Linked DNA regions of Homo sapiens: all the other regions are linked to region 2. The links are contacts of gene promoters, found by promoter capture Hi-C in blood cells and fetal thymus (Javierre and others, 2016). All regions are on one chromosome and are shown on one strand. Each heading gives the region's core, a stretch centred on a gene start or on the middle of the fragment in contact. The rest is flanking DNA. Distances are from core to core; before and after follow the strand shown.

What was found. Contacts are between HindIII fragments. The CHiCAGO score rates a contact against its expected background, and 5 or more counts as called.
Region 1: a fragment that was not itself captured here is called in contact with the fragment with the promoter of ADGB in region 2 in 1 of 17 cell types (M0 macrophages); the score reaches 5.5 in M0 macrophages.
Region 3: a fragment that was not itself captured here is called in contact with the fragment with the promoter of ADGB in region 2 in 1 of 17 cell types (M0 macrophages); the score reaches 7.3 in M0 macrophages.

The regions. Positions count from the first base shown.
Region 1 is chr6:146,335,691-146,339,205 of GRCh38, forward strand. All of the region lies in intron 3 of GRM1 (glutamate metabotropic receptor 1), which reads left to right. Among named protein-coding and RNA genes, the nearest start is that of RAB32, 210 kb to the right of the region's middle. The HindIII fragment of the contact is 5,315 bases long and covers 1-3,515 here.
Region 2 is chr6:146,596,667-146,600,292 of GRCh38, forward strand. ADGB (androglobin) reads left to right here and starts at 2,306. Exons shown (of 36, transcript NM_024694.4): 1 at 2,306-2,448. The coding sequence starts at 2,375. ADGB-DT (ADGB divergent transcript) reads right to left here and starts at 2,265. Exons shown (of 3, transcript NR_125860.1): 1 at 2,167-2,265; 2 at 1,404-1,505. RefSeq lists a silencer at 2,107-2,401. The HindIII fragment of the contact is 3,644 bases long and covers 167-3,626 here.
Region 3 is chr6:146,308,282-146,311,509 of GRCh38, forward strand. The region is part of intron 3 of GRM1 (glutamate metabotropic receptor 1); the gene reads left to right. Among named protein-coding and RNA genes, the nearest start is that of RAB32, 230 kb to the right of the region's middle. The HindIII fragment of the contact is 1,296 bases long and covers 1,144-2,439 here.

The sequences.
Region 1 (3,515 bases), core at 556-3,055, 260 kb before region 2:
GTAGGTCTATGATGAGCCCGGAAATCTCCATTTTAACAGATACATTAAAAGAGTACAATGCTTATAATTTTTTAAATACCTCATGACATGGTTTGGCTGTGTCCCCACCCAAATTTCATCCTGAATTGTAGCTCCCATAATCCCCACGTGTCCAGGAAGAGACCTGGTGGGAGGTAATTGAATCATGGGGGCAGATTTTTCCCATATTGTTCTGGTGATAGTGAACAAGCCTCAAGAGATCTGATGGTTTTACAGAGGGCAGTTCCCCTGCACATGATCTCCTGCCTGTGTCCATGTAAGATGTGCCTTTGCTCCTCCTTCACCTTCTGCCTTGATTGTAAGGCCTCCTCAGCCATGTGGAACTGTAAATCCATTAAACCTCTTTTTCTTTATAAATTACCCAGTCTTGGGTATGTCTCTATAGGAGCTTAAGAATGGACTAATACACCTCACAATCAGTTTGGATGTGGAGTGGGAGAGTTGGAAAGAGTGTTAGTATCTTGAGCCTGAGCATTATGGTGTAGTAGAATCTAGGCCATCCATTCTTTCTTAAATTGAGTTCTCAAGAAGCAGAGCCAGAGGCAGAGATTCCTTTGCTAATGATTTGTTGAGGCGTGCTGTCAAGAGGAGAGGAAGTAAGCTAAGACTGGGGAGTAAGTTAAGTAATGTCTCAGCTGGAGAGAAGCTGCAATCTGATTCCAGGAAATCCTCTGAAACACAGATTGACTGAGAGTTAGCAAGGGGTCCAGGCTTTTGAACTCCACTATCCATCATTGGTTGAGTTCTGGCATACAGCAAACGATGGGGGAACAGAGTCTTCCTGATGAGGCATTTCCTGTTCGCCTGAGAGCAATTCCTCACAGAAGATGGCAGCTGTGGGTTGATTTTAGCAACACTCCATCAGCTGTGCTGTGAGTGTTCTAGTTGAAAAGGTGGTCTAGGCTGGTCACCAAAAGTATTGGCTACATCTCTCCACTCAACAAGAGTTACCTTTGCTCCTCGCCTTGACCTCCTGGCTTTTCCCTTTCTCCAGTATTGGCAACTCTTCTGATTTGATGCCAAGACACAGTCCCATCTTGAACCCAGTTCCAGTACCCGACTCTGTATATTTTTGTGCCTGAGTCCCTGTCTTGGTAGCTTCTATGATACCACAACTAATTAAAAACTTGTTCTGAATAATGCTTTTCCTAAAGAGTGATGTCCTGCCCTGGGGCCTGCCATTGAAAGGTTGCCCACTCTGGGTACCCTCAGGTGTTTGTGTCTGCATGACTCTTCCTTTACTTCCTGTTTCCAAGGTCCCAACCTGGTTTTTCGCTTTCTTGCTGAACTTATTTGCCTGTCCCTCTTCCTGGTTTCAGGAAGGGCTTCCACACCACAGAACTCCAAGGGCACCATTATCATCATGTTTTCTGTGGATGGTGATGGTGACCTCTGGAGATGTGGAGATGTGCGGTACAGCAGTCCAGGCAGTACTCCTTGGGCAAGTGTCTGCCTCAGGACTACACTTCTGAAGCAGAACCTGGCAGCCCACTGCCCAGACCCAGCCTCTCCCAGTCTCTCTCATGTCCCAGGTTCTGCCTGGTGATAATCCATATAAATTCAGGAATGCTTTTACTTCTCTGTGCCTGTTTCTTTGTAATACTTTTCCACTTTTAATTTTTTAAAAAATTGGAAAATCACAAGAGGCTATCAAATGCTTTTACATATTTGGCCAACTAATAATGAAATTAAATGTTTCAATCAAATCACTTGGGGGATATATTCCTAAAACGTTCTTTGGACAGAGTAAACAAAGGAACTAAACTATATATGGAAAGTAAGGGATAGGGATATTAAGCCAGCTTCCTAGTCTCTGGGATTGCTGCCTGCACACGACTTGGCCTTCTCATGAAATTCAGGGTCTGTGTGCTGTGGCAGAAATTCAAAAAGCGCTGCTTCCAGCTTCTTCCCTGCCAGGAAATCTCTCTTCTAAAGATACAGCACAATGATGTACTTGGTGAATCAGACTCAAATTTTGTGTTTATTTACAGGAAATTAACAAAAGTGAAAAAATTATAACGACTTGAAAATACTATAATAAATGTTATCATTATAATTTTAAAATAATGAGGCCACAAACAGGAATACACAATTCCCCCAAAAGAAAATGATTTACTTCCCCTAGTAACTAAAGAAAACAAAAAGAATAATTTTGCACTTGTCAAACTGGCATATATTATACAAAATGATAGTATCTACTGCTGGTCAGGATGTGGTAAAATGGGTGCTCAGATATGCAGCTGATGGTAAAATACATGCTATGATTTTTCCTGGGGGGAAATTTTCCAATATGGATCAAGAGTCTAAAGAAACGTCTTAATCGAACAATTTTACTGCAAATGATTCATACCAAGGAAATGATCACGTTATGCAATGCTAGAAATATTTGTGTGCAAACAGGAAAAATAAAAACTTCCTATATTCCTAATCTCCAACAGGTCAAATATTAGATAAATGCTAATATATTTTTACCACGAATTATAATGGCTCCATTTTACTGGGCTATGGCAGGTATGCTATGAATCGGCTTTTTCAATGGTGATATAATCCAGGCTCAAAGGTTCCTAAGACTGGCATGGAAAAGACAGAGCAGGGTTGAAGTTACTTGCATCTAACAAGCTCAGCCCCAACAAGTCCTCTATGTGGTCTATCTTATCCCGTTTGAATTCTGAATTTGGTTTGGGGCCCAAGCCCCAGCTAAAAAGAGAGTGTTAACTTTGCTTTCTTTGCCTCCACAGTTCACACATCCTTCTCAGGGCCTCTTGCATGTCTATGGCTTAGAGTAGGACTCATGAGCTTATGTATGTTTAAAATAGTCACTGTGGACTGAACACCATCTAGCAGATAAGGCCTTCAAAGAAATGATAGTCCACTGAGCCTGTCTATGCTAAACGTCTATAGGAGCTCCCTTTGACTTATTGCTTCAAATCTAAAGCCCTCTGATTTGTTAAAGTTCAATAAATATCTGTTATTATTCCCTGGCTTCCTGCAGTGGAATGTTATGGGGGTACAAGTTATAGAAGCCCAGAGTAGCTCTTTATTAACCAAGTTCATAAAGGCTTGGATCTGCCCTGCCCCCTCCACACTCGGTATCTCCTCTCTGTTTGCACCACTATCAATACCAATGCTACTTAGCAGCCCCTTCCTCCTTCTTCTCTTCTCTACTCTGTGTCTTATTCTTGCTTAATAGCCATCTTATGCCCAGCCTCCTCCATAAATCTTCCCTGGGATGCCACAGTGACTGCAGCATTTCTTAAATCCTTGTCCTTATAGTTGGACCCACAAAGTTTGACTGTATTCTATACAAACAGCACAGAGTTAGACATATGAAACATACTCCATGAACAGCTAAGTAGGCAATTTTCCAAATGGAAATGCAATCACTGTGGTATTAAATTCTTGTTCTCTTGAATAACTTCAAAGAATGAACTGGCATTCTCATTTTAATTTTATTCTAGAAGCAAGTAAAAATTCCT
Region 2 (3,626 bases), core at 1,056-3,555:
AAAGGAGTTAGCACCCTTCCCTAAACCTTGCATGTAGTAGGTACTCAATAAATCACAGCTATTATTATTATTATTCCAAAGTGACATTGACAACAGTTATAAGAAAAATAAAAACAGCAGTAGGACCTATTGTCTTTTTTGCACTGCCACAATAAATATCATGTTAAGCTTTGTAGCTAGAACTATCTTAGAGAGGAACAGATTTGCTCTTATAATTACAGCCTGACCAGAACCTTAGCTCCAGAAAGAAGAGAAATTCCATTTATGCATGTTGCACTCTTAATATAATAAAGGAGAAAGAACACTGGCGTAGGAATTAATAGGCAACTTATACTCGTCACATCTTTTATGATTATCTTATTCCATTCTGGTGACAACCCCCTTACTTTATCCTAATTTAATAGATGTTTAAAAAGCAAGCTCTGAGTGGAGTAGTGATATGTTTGGCTTAAACTGGCAATGCTGACTTTAATGTGTTTAGTCCAAATTCCATCAATAAATAACCCAGCAACTTTTGGCAAGACATTTTGCTTGTCTTCGCCTGGAGTTATTTGTCCATAAAATACCGGTGGGATGTAGATCTTTTGATTTCTAAGGCTTATCTTCCCTAATTCTTTTGGCATCTTGCAGCCATTAACAATGGCTGCAGGATAGCCCTTGTTCAAGAAGAAACTCACCTCTCTGTGGGGTTGGCTGCTTAAAGTTGTGCTGTTTTCAGCCAAGAGTCTTTGTATATACTTATAGCTATAAATTTGATTACTCTGACAAAATTTGGTAGTAAATAATTTTTCTCACCATTTAGTCCTCTACTTTCATTCAAGAGAGTTCTCTGGAAATTTGAATTATGGTATAAACAAAGCAGAATCTTCATGATGTGTTCATTGTCTTTACATATATAGGAGATGTTTGCAGGGCAGTCTTGTAGTCATAATATTAACACTGCTGACTTGGAATTTATTTATTTTGCATATAGAAATACAACGAAGGGGCTGTCTGTCATCTAGGTAACCCCCAGTAGTAATCCAATAGTAATAAGATTGGGATAGTCTGACAAACCATAGGCTATGCTGAGTGGAGAGCCCTGAGCATTCATTTGTCAGAGAAGTTGAAAGATTTTCTCTGCAGGAAGCTGCCTCTTGCCTGCACAGGTGGAACTGTGAGCATGTGCCCAGTCCCATGAGTGGAGGGGATTTCTTTTATTTAAAGATACTTAACTATTTCTAGGCTCATGAAAGACACCAACCAGTAGTAGTGGTCCTAGGCCTAAGGGCTGTGTGTCAGATATCTCTGAAGTGAGGTTATATTGAACCAACACAATATTTTGTTTTGTTTTGATAAATTTGCAAGCTCTTGCAGTCTAAGCATGTCTCAGTTAAGCATAGTATCCACTACTCTGTATTTACCTGGCCAACTTCATTCATTCACGCTGTCTGCTGCTCCTCGAAACCAGGTGGTCTGTCATCTCTGAAAGAGTGGCTCCTATTTGCTGCGCTTTGCATCTTATCCTCAAAACAGAACTGTGAGTTAGGTATAACTCCTATTTATAAGTGAGTAATAGGCATCTCCTATTTATAAGTGAGTAAACTGAGACTCAAAGGGAAAAACTAGCCCAAGGCAAGATAACTAACAAATCACCACTGATGACTGAGCCTTAAGCCTGCGCCCTAATAAGTTTCATTTTACTTGGTTCTGTCTGTGTCATCTGGCCCCTGGACCTTTTCTGGAAAGTCTGCAAAGGACCACCTGAGCCCATGACTTGGACTCACTCTTTCATTCGAACAACAAGACACCTTATTGGTTTTATTACAGATATCATCACCTAGCCCTCAGCGACTCAAGGTGTCATTATTTTGCCTTCCTTACACCCACTGTGTTAATTTCTGGACCCCAGGTTTTCAAGCCATTGACAATTTCAGCGTGTCTGTAATGTCTCCTTAGTAATTATTGAAGGTACTTGTTATATTTAGCCAAGAGAATAACTGGGGTGGTACTAGGATAACATCTACGTTCAAATAGTTGGATATTCAAGAGTCGATATATGTCTATGGTTCCGAAGGGCAAAGCCAGGCAGTGTAGGTCCTGCAGAACTCCAATTAATCAGGGCTGCCCAGTAATCCTAATGCCAAACCCGTGCCCCAGAACCTCGATTTCTCCCCAGACACCAACTCCAAGTTCCTCCACGGGGATGTGGGATTTCAGTTTATGCTCTTGCGTCCCTCTGCAGCCACAGGCCGCAGAGCCCGCCCCCAGGGCCCCGCCCCCGCTCTCCGGGCGCTGGACGCGGGACGCCGTCTCCTGGCAACGCAGACGCGGAGCCGAGCGCGCCCGCAGGCTCTTTGCTCAGAGCTCAGCCCTACATAGATCGGCTTCTGCCATGGCCTCCAAACAAACCAAAAAGAAAGAGGTGCATCGTATCAACTCGGCGCACGGATCGGATAAATCGAAAGAGTAAGGGACCTCTGCCTGTCCGTCCCTCCCCTGGCCTAGCCCCTCGACCTCACCACTAGTTCTGGGGCTGCCTCCCTGCAGCAAACTGTGCCAGGGCAGAAGTTTAGTGGCCTCCTCGCAGCTTGTCTTCTCTGGTAAACCAGATCCTGGAGGTGCTCGCTCTCATCCTTCTCTCTTGCTTGTCTTGACTCACTTCCTTTCCCAGAGCCCCTGATTTTCTTGCTTTGGGTGTTCAGCTCCCATGGGTGAATCTGCCACCCCTCCTCTTCTTCATAGCCCTCTCAGGCAGTTAGAAAGGCCATAGCTTTCCTAAGAAAGAGGCATATCTCAAATACTTCTGGTTAAAGCCACATCTTCATGGCCCCGGAAATGATACAGACAGCGAGTGACAGACAGACATGGACACATTTCACCTTAATGGTGATTTTCTAGTTTGCATCTGCCCAGTCCAACGACTACGATCTTTAATCAGATATAGTCAGACGTAAAGTGGCTTCTAAACCTTAAAACATTATAAATGTATAGTTCATGTTACTAACATTTACTCTGAGAAAGTAAACAGACCCTCGCTCATGGAATTTTTATGGTGCCTTTGTCCTGGGCTGGTGTTAGGTGTTGTGTCTTAGGATGTACTTCCCCATGATTATTATTTTCTGTGGTCTGTTTCCCTAGGGATATCCAGTTATCCACAGCATAGGATTGGGGCTGTTTGAACTTACACCATTTCTAATGTTCATTCCCACTGTGAGAGAATCCCAGCTGCCCGCCCTGCTTCAGTGGGATCATTCATGTTCTTCATGCTCTGCCTGATGGGGAGGGCGATGCAATCAATCATTTCAAATTGAATTCTTACATCCTTGATGCCTGTTTCTCCATTTCCTTCCCTGGCTGAAGAATTCCACATTGGACTGATCCCTATGATTCACTGATCCCTAGGATTTAAACTCTTTTTCTTTGTGAATTCTTCTCCCAGACTCATTCCCATGTCTGTGAATCTCTAGTCCCTTAGTTCTAACCTCTCTCATAAGCAGGTTTCCAGTTACCCGGCAGATAATCCATTCCTTTTACTAGCTTAAATTTTAGATATTACATATATAAGTAATATTACATATATAATTTTATATAAATATTACATATGTAATTTTAATAGGATTGCTTTACTTCTGTGTACCAAAGTC
Region 3 (3,228 bases), core at 542-3,041, 290 kb before region 2:
GTAACATGACAACAATATCCACCTCACACAGAACTCTGCATGAATTAAATGAAATAACACAAATGAACTACTTTACAATAAAATAATACAAGTGAAATACTTTGCAAACTGAAAATACTTAACATAAATGTAAAATGTTACTACTAGTGTCATGTCTTATTAGAAAACAGGGCATGACATAGATCATTTCATAAAAATTATATATTTTGTAATTGTAAGTTTAACTTAACTACATCCCAGGATGTGGAAACTAGAAAAAACAAGACAACAATCTTTAATCAATCACCCTTACATAGTTAGTGCCAATATAGATATTTTCTCTTATATTTTCCCATGCAGTCTTTTATAATTTTTTTCTGATGATGAAAGTAATACGTGCTTAATATGCTATTGCATGCACTTGGAAATATACAGAAGCATTAGAAAGCTGAAGAGAATTAAGAATTTGCTCTTATCTAAACATCATTAGTCACTGTTAAAATTTTGGCATGTTTTCATCTTTCTCTATATAGTTTTAAATTATGTATTAATATTATTTTATATATTGCTGTATTAAAAGAAATGTTTTATACATTGATACATTTGTCTTTGTCGTTAAATTCTTTTATTCTTAATGGCTGCTTAACATTTTGCATTCACATAAGCTATAATTTAGGCATTTCATTCTTTCTATTTAGGCTGTTTTTGCTTATTCACAATTTTCAAAAATGTTGCAGTGATATAATAAAAAAATTTTCATTCTAAACTTTCTTTTTTTACATTTGGATAATTTTCTTAAGTTGTATTTCTAGAAGTTAAATTTCTAGAAGTTTAATCAAGAGATATAAACATTTCTGGCTGGGCATGGTGGCTCATGCCTGTAATCTCAGTGCTTTGGGAGGCTAAGGTGGGCAGATGGCTTGAGGTCAGGAGTTCGAGACCAGCCTGGCCAACATGGTGAAGCCCCATCTCTACTAAAAATACAAAAATTAGTTGGGCTTGGTGGCGGGTGCCTATAATCCTAGCTACTCGGGAGGCTGAGGCAGGAGAATCGCTTGAGCCTGGGAGGCAGAGGTTGCAGTGAGCCGAGATCGCGCCACTGCACTCTAGCCTGAGTGACAGAGCGAGACTCTGTCTCAAAAAAAAAAAAACAGAACATTTTTAAGCTTTTGAAAAGGAGTTCCAAAAGGCAGCTCCTACTAACGCTGCTTGAAACTCTATGCATTCTTTTCATTTTATTTTGCATAATTATCATCACAGTGTGCATACAATTCTCTATCTTATTTCACTCAGGATTATATTTTACATAGTTTTGATGTTGCTTCATGGTCTTTATAACCACCATTTTAAAAGCTCCATAATATTCTAACCAGTTAAAATACTATAACTACTGGCCATTCTTATGTTGTCAGTCATTTAGACGACTTTTAATTTTCCTTCTTACATAAAAAAAAAAGCACTGAATATGATACACAGATTTTTCACAGTTGTTGTTACTGTTTTGGGATTGTTCCTTTACAGTAGATTCCTAAATATAATTATTAGTAATAACTTGATAAATTTGGGGTCCCTTAAAAATATAAACTGCATTTTCTTGCAATATGGCAATATTTGCATACTTAATATTTGCTCCGGCTAGCAGTATATTAACTGTATGAGTTCATGGGGTTTATTCTGTCCTTATCAGCCTTTTTCACACCTCAGTGAAGTTATAGCCATTATTTTATTTTCTCTCCATATTCTTTGTACCAATTGAGAACAGATGGACACAATGACTTTTAAAATTAGTCTATATTACATTTGGCTATTTTAGAAGACATAATGAAAGAATCTGGCTGGTATCTAATTCTCACCAACAGCTCAGGACTGGTAAGATGATGATAGCTAGTCTAGTGAAAACATTTTAAGACTTTGAAGCAAGGGGACTCTTACTCCAATAGTTTGGAGGCTGCCATTCACAATTTTAGACTGATACTAATTTTCATAATATATTTGCCTTATTAGGTTTCAAATTTTATGGACTCCACTTGGAATTAACTTATTTTATAAGGCCAGATAAGATCAGTCCATTAGAGTTTGATCCAGATTAAGATGTTCCATAAACTGAGATGGGTTCCAGTTTACTTCAGCCCATTAGGTCCTTTGGTAATAACTTCTCTTTATCTTGGGAAGTTTGACCCAAATGTCAATATGCACTCCTGAAGAATATCATTTGCTTTCAACCCAGAAGTTGGTATTATTAGTTGGGGTTTGTGGAAGACATTACATTTCTTCACCCCTTTTTGTATCCATGCTCTTTGAAATATGGCTTTGTAGCATCTCTCCTCGAGAGGTAGAGTTTTGTTCCCTACCTGTTGAATCTGAATTGACCTTACCATTTATTAACTCTAAGTTTAGGCCTTAAGAGACTTGACCTACTCTCATTTTCTTTCCTGGAACCTTACCTTAGCCATATGAATAAGCTTGAATTTATCTGGTAGAAGATGAGAAATAACATGGATCAGAAACAGGATGACCTCTCAGTTGAGAATGTCCTAGATCAGCCAGTCCCTGGCCAACCCACCACCTGACAGTTGACGCCTGAGTGAGCCAAGCTGAGATGAGTTATGTCCAACTCAGAGCAGCAGAACTTCCTAGTTGACTCCTAGATTCATGAACTAAATAAATTATTATTGTTTTAAACCACTAAGCCCTGGGATGGTTTGTTATGCGGCTTTTTTGGGGCAATTGATAACTGATAAAGGTATTCATAGCTTTGTAATCCATGGAGCAATAGTTGGTTTAATTAAATTATGGGACATAATTCCTCAACCCAATAGTAGAATGCTCAGTCTTTTCCCATCATAAGAAGAATGGTGCAATATTGCACCCAGGATCTCGTCGAGCAAAGCCAAAAAGTTTTATAGATCCTGCAATCAAAAGAATTTTAAAGCCCCCTTGATCCTAGGCAGTTAAACTATTCCACTTAGGAAATCTGCTGTGCATACAGGAAGTGCTGAAAAAATGAGGTACAGTTATAGCTTAGTCAAACAAATACTCTCAAAATAAAACAGTCATATGTTCTCATACAGTGCTGTTATAAGTTGCTTTATGGGAATAGGTTTTACAAGTCTTAGAAGTGTTTATATATCTTAGTTGGAAGAATGAAAGTGAACTGACTGTGTGTCTCATCTGGACCTTATAATTTCTCAGACAAATCTGATTATCACACAGATGAAGCTCTGAGAGTAACTATTCAATAGGCACAAT